Linked DNA regions of Homo sapiens: region 2 is linked to region 1. Evidence: promoter capture Hi-C in 16 types of primary human blood cells and fetal thymus (Javierre and others, 2016). All regions are on one chromosome and are shown on one strand. Each heading gives the region's core, a stretch centred on a gene start or on the middle of the fragment in contact. The rest is flanking DNA. Distances are from core to core; before and after follow the strand shown.

The links. Contacts are between HindIII fragments. The CHiCAGO score rates a contact against its expected background, and 5 or more counts as called.
Region 2: a fragment that was not itself captured here is called in contact with the fragment with the promoter of CNGB3 in region 1 in 1 of 17 cell types (M1 macrophages); the score reaches 5.1 in M1 macrophages.

Annotation. Positions count from the first base shown.
Region 1 is chr8:86,742,134-86,745,220 of GRCh38, forward strand. It overlaps CNGB3 (cyclic nucleotide gated channel subunit beta 3), which reads right to left and starts at 1,501. Exons shown (of 18, transcript NM_019098.5): 1 at 1,366-1,501. The coding sequence starts at 1,494. The HindIII fragment of the contact is 3,976 bases long and covers 1-1,993 here.
Region 2 is chr8:88,391,650-88,394,736 of GRCh38, forward strand. The region is part of intron 2 of LOC105375630 (a long non-coding RNA gene); the gene reads left to right. Among named protein-coding and RNA genes, the nearest start is that of MMP16, 66 kb to the left of the region's middle. The HindIII fragment of the contact is 1,919 bases long and covers 687-2,605 here.

The DNA.
Region 1 (3,087 bases), core at 251-2,750:
GTTCTCCAAGAGAATAATATATTAGCTATTAACGGTTTTTATGTGCTCCCTTGGAAAATAATCACAGTAGGCAAGGGTTAAAGATGGATGTAGTGACTTTCCCAGAGCAAAACACAGCAAGACTAGCTGAAGGAAAGTACCAGCTCAATATTTGTGACATTGTATGAGTTCTTAAACATATAGATAACTTAGTGTGGGATTATTTATTTTGACATAAGAATTAGAAAGAAGTCAAGGGCACTCTCTCGAAGCAATACTAACACAGTCCTCCTCATCTCCTCTCTACTGCAAAGCAGTCAACATTAATCAGAAAAGGAAGGCAGATTTTCCACGGCCCATGTTAAATAGTCTCAGTGTTGTCTATCCTCTAGGCTCATTTAAACCCGAACCATTGGACTATGCTCCCCTAGTCCCTGAGGAGCACTCCTGCTTGTACTTGTCATCTCTCATCCAGCTGTTTCAGATGGCAAAATAACTACTGCTCTAAAAATCTTCTGTAGCTCTTTTAGATAATTCTAGTGAGTAATTCACGAAAATTATTCTGTGGATAGTTCTAAGTAAATATTGCTCTTGTAATGATCACTTAGGACTTAAACCTGTCACAGAAACACAAATTCTTATTAATAATAATAATAGCCACTTGTAAAGTACCTACCATGTGCTTTATATATTACTGTCTCTAGTTCTCATAACAAAGCAGAAATTATCATATACATTTTGCAGAAAAATATATTTAGAACTTGTGAAAAGGCTTGTTTAAAGTTCCTCCACCTTGGCAGTATTAAAATTTTGTAGTGTATAATTCTACGTTGTGGAGGGCTGTCCTGTACATGATAGGATGTTGAGCAGCATCTGCAGACTTTACCCACTGGATGCCAGTAACATCCCCACCCCGGAGCTATGACAACTGAAAGTGTCCCCAGATTTGCCAAATGTCCCTTGAGTGGTAAAATCGCTCTCAATTGAGAGCCAATAGGTTTCCTATTGCTCTAGAGATTTATTGTTAACATGTGGTTTATGAAGACCAGGATACTTGATGTTCTTTGTTGAAACTCAATCAAGTAACCAATTTAATATTTGAGAAATGGTTTCATTTTGGATGATGGTAGAAGTGAAAATCAGCAATGAGAAGTCTTACTTGGCTTTTCCAAATCCTAGTATAGTCTCCTAAACATTTATTATTCTTTTTATGAACAAATACATACAGAATATATAAATTAATGAAGATAAGCCCGACACAGTACATGTACCAGATGGTGCCAGGTAAAACTACTAAACAATCATATATCGTAGCAGTGATTAAATGCTATTACCAGATAAGAAATGATGAAAATCAAGGCTTGCATAGGAATGTAGAGGACATACCTGTGCTGTGGTTTGCTGAGACTGATTACTTGGGTGAGAGCCTTCTTCATTCCGACGAGAACTTTGTTCATTCTCATTGTTCTCTCCTATAGGCTTCACCTTGTTGACTTTTGTCAGCGATTTAAACATCTTCTCTGAGGTGGTTCTGAAAACCCTCTGTATTTATGACTGTGCCTTAAGGTAGAGAAATGTACTTTGTTTTCCTTTTCTTTAGTAGACAAGCCAATTAGCTGTTTAATCAGGATTTTGTTCTGGTTAATTCCTACAGGCAACTCCTTAGCTAGTCAGGGCTTTGGCTTAAAAGCAGCAAAATACTTCTGCTTGGGTGATTTGCACTCTGTTTATGAACTTTAGGGAGTCAAAATGATCTTGTGAATAATTTAGAAGTAGAGGATTAAACACAGCTTCATAGTTGATTTGAATGGTTTAAATGTGATCACACAACACATTGTTTTCTTTCTTTTTTTTTCCTTCTAATTACCCACCTACTTATCTTTATCTGTCTAACTTTATGCAAAGTAATATGGAAATGATTAAAAAAAATCCATGAGGGCTTATGATATGAAGCAACTCATTCACTCCTCAAAATCCCCTTCTCTGGTCCTGCAATGTTAGGCCACTATTTTTAAGCTTTCTTTTTCTGTTCTTCTGGTGGTTGATTTCCACATGGCTAAACAAAAAAAAATCTGCTTATTCTACTCTGCCTCTGTGTGTGTGTGTGTCACTTTTGACCCCAAACCTGTGTGAGGCAAAGATACAAGACTAAGATTTGTTAAAGAGAACTTTTTTTTCCCCTTTGCCCGGAGCCCAGACAAAGTTGATGTTCTATGCTGTTGGATGAGATTTTTTAGTGCACCAAAGACGCATGATTTTTTTTAAAGGGGTTCTGTTTTTGTTTTTGTTTTTAATGAGAGCACTTATCTTCTGCAGTTTCAAATTAAAACCAAAGCCTTTATGCAACAAGGTACACACCCACACCCAGGGCAGCCTAAGTCAACCCATCAAATACTTCTTGCCCTCTGTATTTTTGCAATCTGGAAATTTCCTTGAGATACTAGTTATGTATTTTAAGATACGTTTATTACAGTTAATACAGAAAAAAGCCTTTAAGTATTTATGAAGAAAGCATTTTAATTTAGATTTCATATTACCAAAATCGCAGTTCCCTTATGGATTTTTAAAATAAATTAGAAGTTTTAATTTTAGATTCAACCATTTTATCAAAAATAAACTTACCTAATAAATAACGTAATTGAATACATGATTTGACTTATATGGCCTGGAAACACAAAGCTATTTATTTTTGTTAAAAAATGGTGGGGGGTGTTTTGGTTCCATTATTGCTTCAGAAATAATTCTGAATAGATTATCAAATATGTATAGGGCCATTTTAGGAACTTTTCAGATAATCCTGTAATCCTGTAATTGATTACATTTTGAACTTTGGGTATAAGCATAGAAGCTAAGCCAAAGGAAGGGAAGGTGTTAACAGCCAGCCTGTGACTAATTTTTTCCCTTCCTAAGACCTGCAGAGGAAAAAATGACCTCACCAGACTTTCGTATAAATCTCATAGTATTTATCAGTGGAAAGATACCAGGGAGTCCCTATTTATGAAACTTTTTTAGCAGGACATTTCTGGTCTGTCTAGATTGCTTATTGTAAATAAGCCTGGAATTTAGCAGGCTGGCTGGAGAATGGAGAGAGAGGTGCTATGTAAGCTC
Region 2 (3,087 bases), core at 396-2,895, 1.6 Mb after region 1:
ACATGCAGTGTTTGCTTTTCTCTTCCTGTGTTAGTTTGCTGAGGATGATAGTTTCCAGCTTCATTCATGTTCCTGAAAAGGACATGAACTCATTCTTTTTTATGGTTGCATAGTATTCCATGGTGTATATGTGCCACATTTTCTTTATCTAGTCTATCATTGATGGCCATTTGGGTTGGTTCCAAGTCTTTGCTATTGTGAACAGTGCTGCAATAAACATACATGTGCATGTGTCTTTATAGTAGAATGATGTATAATCCTTTGGGTACATACCCATAATCGGATCGCTGGGTCAAATGGTATTTCTGGTTCTATATCCTTGAGGAATTACCACACTGTCTTCCAAATGGTTGAACTAATTTACACTCCCACCAACAGTGTAAAAGCGTTTCTATTGCTTCGCATCCTTGCCAGCATCTGTTTTTTTCCCAGACTTTTTAATGATTGCCATTCTATTCTACTTCTTATGATTCTTTTAAGAATTACATAATGGGTGTATAGGATGAGAAATTTTTTTCATTTCCTGTCATTCTTTTCTCTCTTTTTTTCACCCTCATGGAAAAGGAGTTTTTGGTAGGACATTAGGGAGAAGCTTTCAGCATAGTAATGCATCAAAAAATAGTTACTATTAACTACATAAACATGAGGAACTTGTCTTGCTCTGGGGAGAGGACTTTGGCATTCCAAGCTTCTTTCCCCTTTGCTTATCCAACTCTATTTGTTTCCTTCCAGAAAGGATGCAGGAATATATCTAGGGTTGAGCAAGGGTAAAAAAATACAGAGAGCAGGAAAAGATTTAGGTGAACCTGCAGTAATGAATAGAGATTGAGACAATAAAACAGATTCTCGGGTACCCTTTCAAACAGGATTCTATGGACAGAAAAGTGATTTGATAACAACAGCAAGGAAATATTTTACACCACATTTTGGATGCAGTATGTGCTCATAATCAGTGGTTAAATAATATCCATTTTATTTTTAACAATGACCAGCATATTTGCACAGTTTTCCAGGCATTGTGAACCCACTGAAGAGTGAGATATACATAATATATTGCCATTATTTCCCATTCACTTCTTTCATATGTCAAGTTTTAAATGCATTTATGTGGTCCTCTTAAAGGAGATAATGCTTGAAAAGTTTTCTGAGAGTACCCAAACATTGATATTGCTTAATAAACGTGAATGATTATCACTGTCATTAAATTTTAGGATAATACCCTCACTTTTAAAGATATGACTGTAGCAGTTAGAGAAAACTTCAATTAATCAGCCTCCAACTGAGTAGAATTTTCTTTTTAACCTACAATTCACACTTGCTGAAATAACATAATAATAGAAAAATATTTTACATTTTCTATTAGCAGAACCTGAAATTAAGGGAATCCGTGCTCTGGACATGATTCCATAGGAATTTAGAAATATATTCTATTATGTCCAACACCAAATCTAACACAAGGAAGCCTTCGGGTCAATCAGTCTTTCTTTCATGCAGTCAATAGCCTTTGTTAAACACCTTCTAAAGGCTGGGCATTATTCTAGAAACAGAGAAAGAGGGAAAGACAAAATGAACAAAAGCACTTGACACCATGAAGCTAAGTATGGAGACGACAGATCTTAACAAATGAGTACAGATCATTAATGAAGTACCTGCAAATAGGAAAATGCCTCAAAGGTAAAAGAGGCTTGGAAACCACAAGCCATCAATAAGTTACTCAGCAGATTACTACAAGCCACTGTATCTCAAAAAATGTGTGTGGTGATTCTTTGCCAAAATCAGCAGTTTTCTCTCCAAATCATTGAATAAGCATCTTCTTCCCCAACTGTGACAGAATCTCCACTGATGAGGAAGCATTCTGATCCCTTTAGAATTGTAAAGCTCCTCAAGAGCAAATGGAACAGAGCTTAACCATCTTATCTACTACTCTCGCAAGCCTCAGTTTAGTTCCAGGCCTTTGCTTAACAGCTTCAAGTTTCCTTTGGCCTCCTTATTACCTGTTGTATCACCTTTGGATGACCAAATGACTCATGTTCTATTACTTTTCTGAATATGTAAGTCTAAATTTTACCATGATAATTCCCAGATTCCAACCTACCACTCAACCACCTCAAGGACTCAGCTTCATATAGGACAATTTGTTCCTATCAGTAATAAAATAGTTTTTAAAAAGATTCTTAGTGTCAATACTCATTTAATTATTTAAATTCTACAATTATGGTATTATTCCATAACAAAATCAATAGTATCTGGGGGAAAAACACCCAAGGCTCTAAAAAAACTAAGAAAGAGATGATTTTTAGTACAAGTATTGCCTAAAGCTGTAACTGGACTATATTTAAGAATACTTTTTAATATCAAATATTAAGATCAAAGTGTTTTTTCTGGTTTATCTACTATTTTCTCTGTCCCCTCAGATATTCAGCTAATCAAAGTTTTAATGTAGTAATGTGAAATTAATGTAGAGACTATGTTTCAAGTCATGAATTGGTTCCAGTAGATTTCAATGTAATAACTTAATCAGTTTTATTAAACTAATTTTAAAAAGAAGTTGGAAAATGTATGTGGTATAAGTAGAATCAGCATTAATTTACATGTGAGCTAGGAAAGCTTATATTGAGGATAGATAACAGATATTAATTAATAAATTTTAAAAACCTAATAGCTAAAAGTCATGTATTCTAAAGAGGTACTTTTTATCTTAGTGCTACAATCAATATTCAAAGTATGATGTTTTGGGAATCTAGATTTTAAAGAAATAAAAAGGAAAAATAAGCCACATAGCACTTATTGTATTTTATATAAGGCTTAAATAAAAATTAGAAAATTTAATTTAAAAATAAAGCATTCATTTTTTTCTGAACATTAAACATAATTAACACATAAAATATTTAAAAGAAAAAAATGTATATCTGCTAAATTAAAGGCAAAAGATTTTCCAACTTTTTCAACAGAAATATAAAATCACTAATGAATTCCACAAGCACATCAAAACAACATCACTGTCTGTTACAGACATTGGGATAGATGTATTATGTGTAGAGGGTTAATGAAACCAATTCCCTGGTTTAGAATGTAAGTACTGGATGC